Regions from separate parts of the Homo sapiens genome. Here regions 2, 3 and 4 are each linked to region 1. Evidence: promoter capture Hi-C in human tissues and cell types (Jung and others, 2019). All regions are on one chromosome and are shown on one strand. Each heading gives the region's core, a stretch centred on a gene start or on the middle of the fragment in contact. The rest is flanking DNA. Distances are from core to core; before and after follow the strand shown.

The links. Contacts are between HindIII fragments. The study calls those that stand out against the background at their distance.
Region 2: a contact is called between a fragment that was not itself captured here and the fragment with the promoter of ERAP2 in region 1, in 1 of the 25 tissues and cell types used here (dorsolateral prefrontal cortex).
Region 3: a fragment that was not itself captured here is called in contact with the fragment with the promoter of ERAP2 in region 1 in 1 of the 25 tissues and cell types used here (dorsolateral prefrontal cortex).
Region 4: a contact is called between a fragment that was not itself captured here and the fragment with the promoter of ERAP2 in region 1, in 1 of the 25 tissues and cell types used here (dorsolateral prefrontal cortex).

Annotation. Positions count from the first base shown.
Region 1 is chr5:96,875,148-96,877,847 of GRCh38, reverse strand. ERAP2 (endoplasmic reticulum aminopeptidase 2) reads right to left here and starts at 1,348. Exons shown (of 19, transcript NM_022350.5): 1 at 1,321-1,348. It also overlaps a transcript of ERAP1 not described here. RefSeq lists enhancers at 450-659, 1,030-1,239, 1,410-1,559, 1,580-1,709. The HindIII fragment of the contact is 2,321 bases long and covers 1,120-2,700 here.
Region 2 is chr5:98,834,868-98,837,567 of GRCh38, reverse strand. No RefSeq gene overlaps it. Among named protein-coding and RNA genes, the nearest start is that of RGMB, 63 kb to the right of the region's middle. The HindIII fragment of the contact is 5,018 bases long and covers 1-2,700 here.
Region 3 is chr5:98,796,164-98,798,863 of GRCh38, reverse strand. It overlaps RGMB (repulsive guidance molecule BMP co-receptor b), which reads right to left. Exons shown (of 3, transcript NM_001366508.1): 3 at 2,370-2,700. Among named protein-coding and RNA genes, the nearest start is that of RGMB, 24 kb to the right of the region's middle. The HindIII fragment of the contact is 5,798 bases long and covers 1-2,700 here.
Region 4 is chr5:98,853,567-98,856,266 of GRCh38, reverse strand. It overlaps CHD1 (chromodomain helicase DNA binding protein 1), which reads left to right. Exons shown (of 36, transcript NM_001270.4): 36 at 1-2,282. Among named protein-coding and RNA genes, the nearest start is that of CHD1-DT, 74 kb to the left of the region's middle. The HindIII fragment of the contact is 3,415 bases long and covers 1-2,700 here.

The sequences.
Region 1 (2,700 bases), core at 99-2,598:
CCTCTTTTTAAAAACAAGCATTAAATTACTGCTACAAATCTCAGTGTTCCAAGAACGTCTGATAAGTACACTCATAATTGGTCTATTAGCTTGAATTTTGGAGGGTTTAAAAAAAATGGAGTGGCTTATTATGTGGGTCTGAGGCTTTGGAATCAGAGTGCCCAGATTCCAACGCTAATTCCACCAACCTCACCTACGTGATCATGGGCAAAGTTTTTTACTTTTTGAGCTTCATTTATCTCAACCATAAAACAGTGTAATAATTATACCTTCCTCATGCTGGGATGATTAAATGAAATAATTCATGTGAAGAAGTTGGCACAGCACAGCATGGAGCATATAGGAAGTAAGTAATTAGTGTTGGATATGAAATTATTATTGAGGTTATAACTTGCATTCAATGGCCAAAATGAAGGAGTAGCTCGCCCCCACTTGTAGCAGACACTCCTAGAGATGTACTTGATTGATAAGAGTAGAGAGAAAAGCTTTACTCACACAGTCTTTAACTTTAGAACTAGTAAGGGTTGTAAAGGCCAGCTAGTACAAGTCCTTAGTGTTCAGATAAAGAAACAGGACCGGGCACAGTGACTCAGGTCTGTAATGCCAGCATTTTGGGAGGCCAAGGTGGGCAGATCACCTGAGGTCAGGAATTCGAGACCAGCCTCACCAACATGGTGAAACCCTACCTCTACTAAAAATACAAAAATTAGCCGGGCATGGTGGCACATGCCCGTAGTCCTAGCTACTCGGGAGGCTGAGGCACGAGAATCGCTTGAACCAGGGAGGTGGAAGTTGCAGTGAGCCGAGATCGTGCTGCTGCACTCCAGCCTGGGCGACAGAGCGAGGCTCTCTCTCAAAATAAATAAATAAATAAATACATAAATTAAATTAAATAAACAGATGAAGGAACAGGATGGTGACTTCTCAAAATCCACACAGGAAGTCTGAAACAGAATCAGGACTAAAACATAGCTCTTTGCCCTTTGGTCTGGTGGGCTTTCTATTATACTGCACTGTACCTTAAATAGCAATGCAGTGAACAAAACATCCTGGGATTGAAGAGGCAAGAATTGTCACAAACGCTTAGAAAAGACAAAAAGATCTCTGAAAGAGAGTCAGTGCAGCAGCGTCTTAGATCAAGTCCCAGCCTCAACTGCATACACTTTCTAATACAGCCGCGCCCAATTCACCCCAGTCCCCCAGAACCTTGCCTTAGATTACAAAACCTTCTCAACACAGCAGTTCTATACCTTCAGTTCATTATTCTTATTGAAAAAATCTAATTTTAAGACAAACCCAAGAGAAATGTTGATACGTTACCTTAAATCATGCTGCTGCAGATTTGACTGAAGGGGAATTTACTTTTGCTTTCACTTTCTGTTCTAAGATTCAGAACTTTGCATGCTTCCTGAGTACAGTAAGTACTAGCTGGTTCATTATCACGCAGGTGTGAATGGAGCTTAGGATAAGAGCTTTATTTCAAAAAGGACAAGAAACTTTTTGTAGAATGCACAAATAAGTGGCTTTGGAGTAGAAGCCAAACCATGGAAAGAAAGGATCGCCAGTGGCTGCCACTTCTGCTGTTATCACCTCCCTTCCCTTGTCCCCAGGGTAAAGCCTTCAGAACATAGTTTATGTTTTTTAGTGCCAAGTTGTTGTCTTAGGAATTGATCTTGAACTTCTCCTTGTGCTGCATCCTCAGTGCTATGAAATCTGACTTCTGCCCATCCACCCCACAAACGTAACTCCAAGCTTACCAAACACCTCCCGGGCAGCTTCTGTGATCTTTATCAGAGGTGATTATTCTCAGATTTTCCATGTCTGTAACCACCCTGTCTCCTTGGGCACGAGGGGACTGTATCTCATGCTCATCTCTTTGATCTCTCTTTATCTGCCTGTTTGAGTTGGGCTTCAACTTCCTCTCTGCTCTGAATACAGACCTTCCACAAAGATGAAACCTCTGGCCTTTGCTCTGCCCTCTCTTTATCCTTTCCAGTACCCAGATTTAGCATTTATCCCCATTCATCCCACATTGCTCCCATTGTGATCCCTCCTTCAAGGGTTCTGCTGCTGTAATTCCAACAGCCTGATGGACCAACAGTACATGGATGTCTAACCCTAACCTGAACCAGAACCCTGACAACTCAAATAGTGTTTTCTTTCCCCAGATAAACACCCTTTGCTTTATATGCTTCCAGCCTTCTTCCATTATCTAGGATTGAACCATATAGTTAGTTACTTTGATTCTGTCCCTCTCCAATTTGTTACCAAAGCCTGTTGATTTTTCCTTTTCTTTTCTTTTTTTTTTTTTTGAGATAGGGTCTCACTCTGTCACCCAGGTTGGAGTGCAGTGGTGCCATCCCAGCTCACTGCAGCCTTGACTTCCTGAGCTCAAATGATCCTCCCACCTCAGCCTCCCAAGTAGCTGGGGCTACAGGCATCCACCACTACACCCAGCTAATTTATTATTTTTTTTTTATAGATGAGGTCTTCCCATGTTGCTCAGGCTGGTCTCAAACTCCTAGGCTCAAGTGATCCTTCTGCCTCAGCCTCCCAAAGGATTGGGATTACAGGCATGAGACACCGCAACTGGCCTTTTTGAATCATTTTCAATCTCTTTCTATCCAACTAAGAAAAAATCCCACCGCTTATTAAAGTAGTCCAGGTCCTCATCCTTCCTCACAATGGCCTTCAATCATG
Region 2 (2,700 bases), core at 3-2,502, 2.0 Mb before region 1:
AAACAACCAACAACAATAACAAAAACAGAAAAATATTCTGTGATACATTTGATGCAAAATTTTTCTGGTTGGATTTATATTTTTTGGTTAATGCAAATAATTATAAAGTAGTTAATGCCTCTGTTATAATGATATATTTGCAATATACTTGTGCAAATGTATAAATATTTTATGTATAAGTATTTTTATGTTTTAAATTGTTTTATTCCATACTCCTAAAGTATTAAATAATACTGGAATTAAATACATGAATACATTTACAAATATATATAGAATCAAGTTGGAAGTTAATCTTAGAATTTGCTTTATTTATCTCACTTTGTAAATAAGAAAATAGAGACACAAAGAGGTAAATTGACCTAAGTGGATACAGGTTAATTATTGACTTCACCAATCTCATCTAACATATATGCTTATTTCTTAACTTTGGCCTGTGTATATAGTTCTGATGTCTATGATTTATTCACTGCTGAATCTTTCATTCAACTATAACACAGGAAAACATGTTTGTCAAAATAGATTTTTCAGATATTAGACAATTCTTGTTCACATTACCTTGATCATGTGTAACCTTCATTATTGGTCTTCTAGGGTAGAGATAATATTTATTCTTGATAAATTTGGCAAAATTGAGACTAGGATATGGTACTTTGGCAAAAGTGTTCTGCTATCATAACAAGTGGCATATGTCTGTAAAGCAACTGTTTTCAGAATGGACATCTCTCACTATCTGCATATTTGAGAAAGTTCAGGATACAGTTCAGAGGCGGTAAGTACTCTCTTACTTATAATATCTAATTAAAATAGTAAGATGACTGAGCAGATGCAAATATTTTGCAAAACAGATGCCACTAAAAGGCTTTGGTAAGGATGCATGTAAATATGTAAATGTTCTTTCCAAAGACTGTCCTATTTGATTAAGAAAAAGAAACACCACGATAACAATAGACTCCATTTATTTCACAAGAAACTGGCAAGCTTTGGTGACTTTTTAATGTGTCAACTTGGCTAGTCTACATTACACTTCCCAGAATTTACTGTCCTGTGTGTTGCCAGTTAGAGTGGGCGGGACATTTTTGTGCGAGATTCAGAGGGTAAAAGTGAAGAAGCAGCCATTTTATGGCCTAGACAGCTCGTTGTTTGTCTGTTGGATCACCTCCTGGCATGAGTCAGTGACCAGGCCTGCACCTGTTCTACCCTCCCCTGAAGTCAGTGTCTCCGACTCCTGGGCCAGGTGTGTGTGTTTAACACCTTGATGAAAGGCCCTTGCTTCTGCAGGGCTTGTATTTCCTTAAGGCGAGAAGCAAAAAGAAATGACATATTGGTCAGTGTGTTCTCATGGGCTCCAATTGTGCTTATGAATTTGAGACTGTCCTTGGTCTTCCTCACTTTACACCCATCTTCTTTCCCAACTGTCTACTGTATGGACTGAAGAGTTTCAGCATCAGGTGCAAAGTCTACAGCCTTACAGAGACTGCTTAACCAGCTCCCAAAGTTGATAAGGTCAAATCCCTGTACCAAGTCCCTCTATCTATCTATCTATCTATCTATCTATCTATCTATCTATCTATCTATCTAGTCATCATAATCATCTGCCTCCTAATAGTTCTTTTCTGATATATTTCTTCATTTATTTGAAGAAGTATGACTAAAATTTCCTTCTAAGCTATATGTGTTATATATAGCACATATGTATTAAAATAAAATTAAGGATTTTGAGTTTTTCACTTTGTATTTGGACCTAAACCAAGAATGACTCTTCTTCTTCTTCTTCAACTATCAGGAACATTTGATAAGGTTGATCTGACTCTTCTTAACTCTGGCTGCATTTTACATATTAATGTGTACTTTGGGCTGCAGAAAATCCTTACTAGACTGATTTAAACACTGAGGAGAAGTTATCTTCCATAGTCCTGAACTATTTTGTCTCAAGGATAACTCATCAACAATTTAATGATGTGATTGAGGACCCAGGTCCTTTCCATTTTCTACTCTGCCATCCTGAGATAGTTTTCTTCAATACAGGATGGCTGCTGCAGTTCCAAGAGGAACAAAGGCTAGAAGAAGGGGAACTTCATTTCTCAGCAGCGAAACTCTTTCCCAGAAGTCTCTACAGCAGGTTTTCCCTCACAATGCATGGGCCAGAACTACTGTGTGTGTGTGTGTGTGTGTGTGTGTGTGTGTATAAACATATACGCAATTATATATAACATATACAAATATATACACACATATATTATATATAGAGATATATATGCCAATCTATGACAAGATGAATGGAGCACAATGATCAGCTTAGGTAAATTAGGATTTACCCCTGGAGCTGGGAGTAGCTCACCCTTCCCAGAGTGAAGTGGGCAAAATAGAATAAATTGGGATTGAGACAGCAAGAATAAAAGAGAAAAATGAATGAAAGGGAAATATGCTCCTGAGAGGCCAAGTAGTGCTGCTACATAGTAGTGGATGATTTCCGTCCCTTAAATCAGACCTCTTTTTTTCTGTCTGTTTGAAATCCTTAAAAATGTACCAAGCTCTCTGATATGGTTTGCCTGTGTCCCTACCTAAATCTCATCTTGAATTGTAGCTTCCATAATCCCCATGTGTCCTGGGAGGGACTTGGTGGGAGGTAATTGAATCATAGGGGTGGGTTTTTTCTATGCTGTTCTCATGATAGTGAATAAATCTCTTGAGATTTGGTGG
Region 3 (2,700 bases), core at 67-2,566, 1.9 Mb before region 1:
GATTGAGATAATGTTATCTTCTGAAAATGTCATCTATGGCAGGTGCAATTCCTACTTGGTTAATTCATCTGTGGCTAGGTCTTGTATATTCAATCTGGTAGCAGAATGCTTTTTTTTTCCTTCTGGAGTTGGAGTTTTCATTACTGAAATAAAAAATGGGTCATAGAAATATTACTCATGAAGAACTCAGAAAACATTGCCCTGTTGCTTTCTTCCTGCTGAAGTTTGATAGGCCTACTTTATTACATTGCAGTTGGCAGGACCAGTTTACTCAATTGGTTTAACATCATTCCAAGGAGGGTGAGGGCATCCATTCTGGCTTTGTAGAATGTTTGTTAGTGTATCCTGCTGGGTGTTGGTTGGATTTCACACATATTTCACCGTCAGGGAGCCATGACATAACCTTTTGGGTACAAAGGACAGCATATTCTATTATTTAGTTGATAGTATCAAATGGCATGCTTATTAGAGGTACCTGGGGGAAGAAGAGCAGAATTTTTTTTTTTTTTAAGTCTCGCTCTGTCACCCCAGACTAGAGTGCAGTGGCATGATCTCAGCTCATTGCAACCTCTGCCTCCTGGGTTCAAGCGATTCTTCTGCCTCAGCCTCCCGTGTAGCTGGGATTACACGTATTCGCCGCCACACCTAGCTAATTTTTGTATTTTTAGTAGAGATGGTAGTTTCACCATGTTGGCCAGGCTGGTCTCGAACTCCTGACCTCAAGTGATCTGCCCGCCTCGACCTTCCAAATTGCTGGGTTTACAGGCATGAGCCACTGTGCCCAGCCAAAGAGCAGTAAATTTAAAGGAAAATACCATCTAAATAATAACAATTGCTTTCATGTGACTTGTCCATTTGGAAGACATACAGAAAAGGGATAGAAGCAGAAAGAAACAATATGGTTTAGGTTTAGGTAACAATATGGTTAGGTAGTGAAATAATAAAGAACTTTGAAACTGCTCCTTGAACATCCTGATTACTTTCTCTGTGGGGGAGACATTGGTTCACATACAAATAGAACAGGGAGAAAATCTGCAGCAAGGTATCTTTGCTCAGAAAGGACAGCAGCAATCCAAGACTGTTATCCCAGCTAGTTCCAGACAATAGAATACTGCCAATGCTACAAAATTAAAAATAAACAAGATAAAAAATAAATCAGATAACAGGACTCTTAGGGTTGATGTCGCTGTTGGGATTTTGGAGTTGACGTTTCAGTCCCCAAAGAGCTGGAGTTCTGGGAATGAAGACAGAATGGTAAAGAATTATTTTTGACTTTAAGCATAAAAGTCAAATAGTCTATAGCACATTTCGTTCTGCTATAGATTATCTGCATTCTTTCAGCACAGACACATCACTGGGTACTCAGTGACTATGTCATTTCATCCTATTTTATGTGGTTCAGCTGATATGATTGTCTTTTTTTTTTTTTTTTTGCTCTGAACTGCTACATGTAAATAGTCAACTGCAATGGTTAAGCTTTTTTCTTTAAGAAACGATTATGGCCAGGTGTGGTGGCTCATGCCTGTAATCCCAGCACTTTGGGAGGCTGAAGCAGGCGGATTGCTTGAGTCCAGGAGTCTGAGACCAGCCTGGGCAACATGGTGAAACCCTGCCTTCAGTCTCTACAAAAAATACAAAAATTAGCTGGGGATGGTAGCATGCACTTGTAGCCCCAGCGACTCGGGGGGATCACTTGAACCCTGGAAGTTGAGGCTGTAGTGAGCTGAGACTGCACCACTGCACTCTGGCCTGGGTGACAGAGTGAGACCCTGTCTCCAAAAGAAAAAAAAAAAAAAAGAAGAAATGATTACATGTATGTTTATCCCAGTCAGAATCTGATCCATTTAGTATTCTACCTAATACAAGTAACAGTGCTTCTCTGTGCCTTTTGTTTCAGTTATTTTCCTAACTTTTCTACCCTTTGGTGTGTTTCTTGAACAAAGACCAACTTGTGATCTCTTGATGTCTCTTTTTAAAACCCAAGAAGTGAGGATTTGTTTTCAAAGCCAGAAAATCCTGCCTTCCCAAATCCTCCCCACCAGGAGGAAGTCGTTACTGTTCACATCACCTTAAAAAGAACTAGAGTGCAGGCTGTATGTCTTCAAGGGACCAAAACTGTTACTAAAGACAGAACTTTGGGACAATACTAGTGGACCAATCTCACTGATACGGATTTGTAACTGCTTAAAATTTCAAAAGAAAAAAAATGACAGTAATGCTATAGTTTTGAAAATCAGCGAATTTGTGGGCAGGTGGCATGACTTATCAGTAACCTTTAGGGATTTTATACAATTCCCCCTCCCCCGACTCCCTTTCTTCTGCAGCTCTCAGTTCTTCCAGCAGGTGTCCCTATAATCACAGAACAGACATTCCACAGCAAGGTATGTAACTTTATTTTTCTAGCATAATAATTTAAAGTATTTACACACTGCACACTCACTGTTTTACACAGATACGTATTCATATATCTATGAACCACATCTAAAGGTTTCTTTGCAAAGACTCGACACACTGTTGGGGGGGGGGGAGCTTCCAAGCATAACAAAGAGGACAAAAAAAAGTTTTGAGTCTTTTAAAGACAGCCATGTGGAGCATCTGTGAAAACCAGTGTTTCCCCCGTTTTAAGCTCCCCCAGGAGACCTCTGAACAGCTATAGCCTATCCACATGTTGGTATGACCTGAAATTCTTCTAGCTAAGGT
Region 4 (2,700 bases), core at 197-2,696, 2.0 Mb before region 1:
GTATTGTTACTTCTTTCCAGGATGCAAGGTCTATTATCCCAACAGAAGAGAAAATATTTTTATATTTAAGGATTATGCTGCACTGTACTACAAAATTGTAGTACTTTTTTTTGTTTTCTTTTTTAAAGAAATGGAAAATGTTTACTATTACAGGGACCTCAACACTGCCCTCCCATACAGGCTGGATAAAACTGTTTTTAAGTCAGTGATTTTAGACTGACCTCCATTTAAATTATGTTTATATATGAACTTTACTCTGACCTGTGATCATGTTTCAGGAAGGAATGAAAGAGAGTTCTTTCTTAATAAAGAAAAACACTCAAGGACTTTGTTCATTTCCAAAGCTACTTGTTTACATTGTACACTGCGACCACCTTGCCGCTTTTCATCACAAGCTTGAATATTTAAATTCTGTACTTATATCTGTAAAATAGCCAGGAATTTCCTGTTTGTGATCTATTATGCCTTTTTACAAAAAAAATGGCTGTAAATTATTGTAAATATTAAAGGAACTTTCCTTACTTCCTTCCCTTTCTCAGGCTTTTTTTGACTGTTCCTTTCCCTACCAACTCAGGCCTTCTTATTAAAAAAAAAAAAATCAGTGTAATAACACTTTTTAATGATTTGTCTTGATGGAATCATTGTTTAGAATGTAAAAATGGGGAAAGGGGCCACTTAATTCCATTAGTCCTCTTTTTATACTGAATATTTTATTAGATACATGTTATTCCCTTTTTTTTCCTTTTTTAGTCAATATTGTGTTTGTAGTTTTAAAAAATGGCGAGATATGTAAAATCTAAACTGCATGCTCTGGAAACACTTTTTTCAGATGCATCTGGTTTAAAAGGGTAGGTGTATAAACACTTTTCAGAATCCAAAACGGCCAAAAGTTATTGTAAATCCGTTTGTTTTCCCGTTTTATGTGGGCAATAATGTCAAATGTGCTATGCAGCCAGGTTAACATTTTAGATAAACTTGATTGACTTTTAATATAAACTGTTACAATGCACACTGATTGTATATAAAAACGTTATATATGACAAATTAAATTTAAGAAAAAGGATATGTGGGCTCCTGTAATTTTCTGCTGCATTCTTACTCCCTCAAGCACTTACCACCACCACCACCGCCCCCTACCCCCGTTTTTAAGTAACATTTTGCTGCCAGAAAAAGTATTTTGGTAAGCAGTTGAATATTTGTAATGTGTAGCATTACAACTAAATCTGTTTTGGAGACTATGAATATTCCTATGAAGTAAAACTTAGGTCATAGACATTTTTGTTGGCCCCTTTTGGCTTCCTACAGATATTATTATGGGATGCTTTATATTTATTCACAGATTTTTATTTTGTTTTATATTCAGCGGGAAGTTTTTAAGTCATGTGGCACACATTCTTGCATGTATGCTTTGATGTAACAAATTTGAATCTTTGACGAATATAAGTATGTGGACATAATTTCTATAGTATTGCTATGTGTGTCACTGTTAATTAGCTGTGGGAGCAACCTACAGATATTTGTCCATAGGTGTATTTTTTAATATTTTCCTTTGTCCAATTAGGTTTATGTGTATAAAAGCTTGTGGGTTTTTTTGCTTTTTGTTTTGTTTTTTGCAGTAATTTCTCTTTCTGATACAGTTACCCTGAAGAATAATAATGCTTTGTTTCTTTTCTGGTATATGAGAGAACATGTGAGGGAGTAGCTCAGTTTTTTAAACATCTAATTTATAATTAAATATAAAAGTAATGAAGGTAGTCCTGGCACACATTTTTGAAACTTTTATCACTTTTCTCTACATTTAGTATGACTATTTTATTCCACAAGATAGCATTTGACTAATTCATAATGCTTAAGTCATAAGATGGTGGCTGGCATTTTTTAATTTATTACTAAAAGCTAAGATATTTGCATTATATTGTGCAAATTTCACAGAACAATGTTGCATTTTCTGAGATAAGGCTCTAATTTTTTAAATAGTGCTACATTTAGTTGAAAGTTTCAGTCAGCTAGTTAGCTGAGTTGAATGAAAAATATAGAACTGTATGTACATTTATCAAATGATAAAATATGTTCATTTTTGTAAGAAATCAGAAAAATTAAGACGCAATGGTGAAGAACATTAGTACATAAATATAGCAGAACATTCTCCATAAAATATTCTGTTTTCATTCTGCTTTGTTATTTTTATCCAGTTATGTTTAATTTTTCAAGGGTGAGAGATTATGTATAGTACTGTACCAATTAACCTTCCACTTTTATACAATAAATAATTCTTACTAAAAGCAATAGCCTGTTTGCTTATAAAGATATTCTTTGTTTAGAGTATGTTAGAAATTAATTTTCAGACTATGGAAAATGAGTTTGAATAATTTTATTTTCAGAGTGAGTAGCTTAATGAGAACCTTTTTAATTTTATGTAATATAAATTATAATTTCTTTTTGTAGTTAATATGAAAAGGTTGAGTAGGTTATTCATTTTCATGAAGTTTATCAAGAATATGCTCTAGGAGTAAATGGCCTGATTTTTACTCTACCCCATTACTATTTCTAACTAGAAAATAATCTTTGCACCCCAAATTAGCTGTCATAGCTTTATAAATACAAATAGCTTTATAAATACAACAGCTTAAAAAGGGATAGGGATTTGGAAGAGCAACTAATTTTTAAATACAGGATTTTAAAAAACGACTTTCAGCTTCA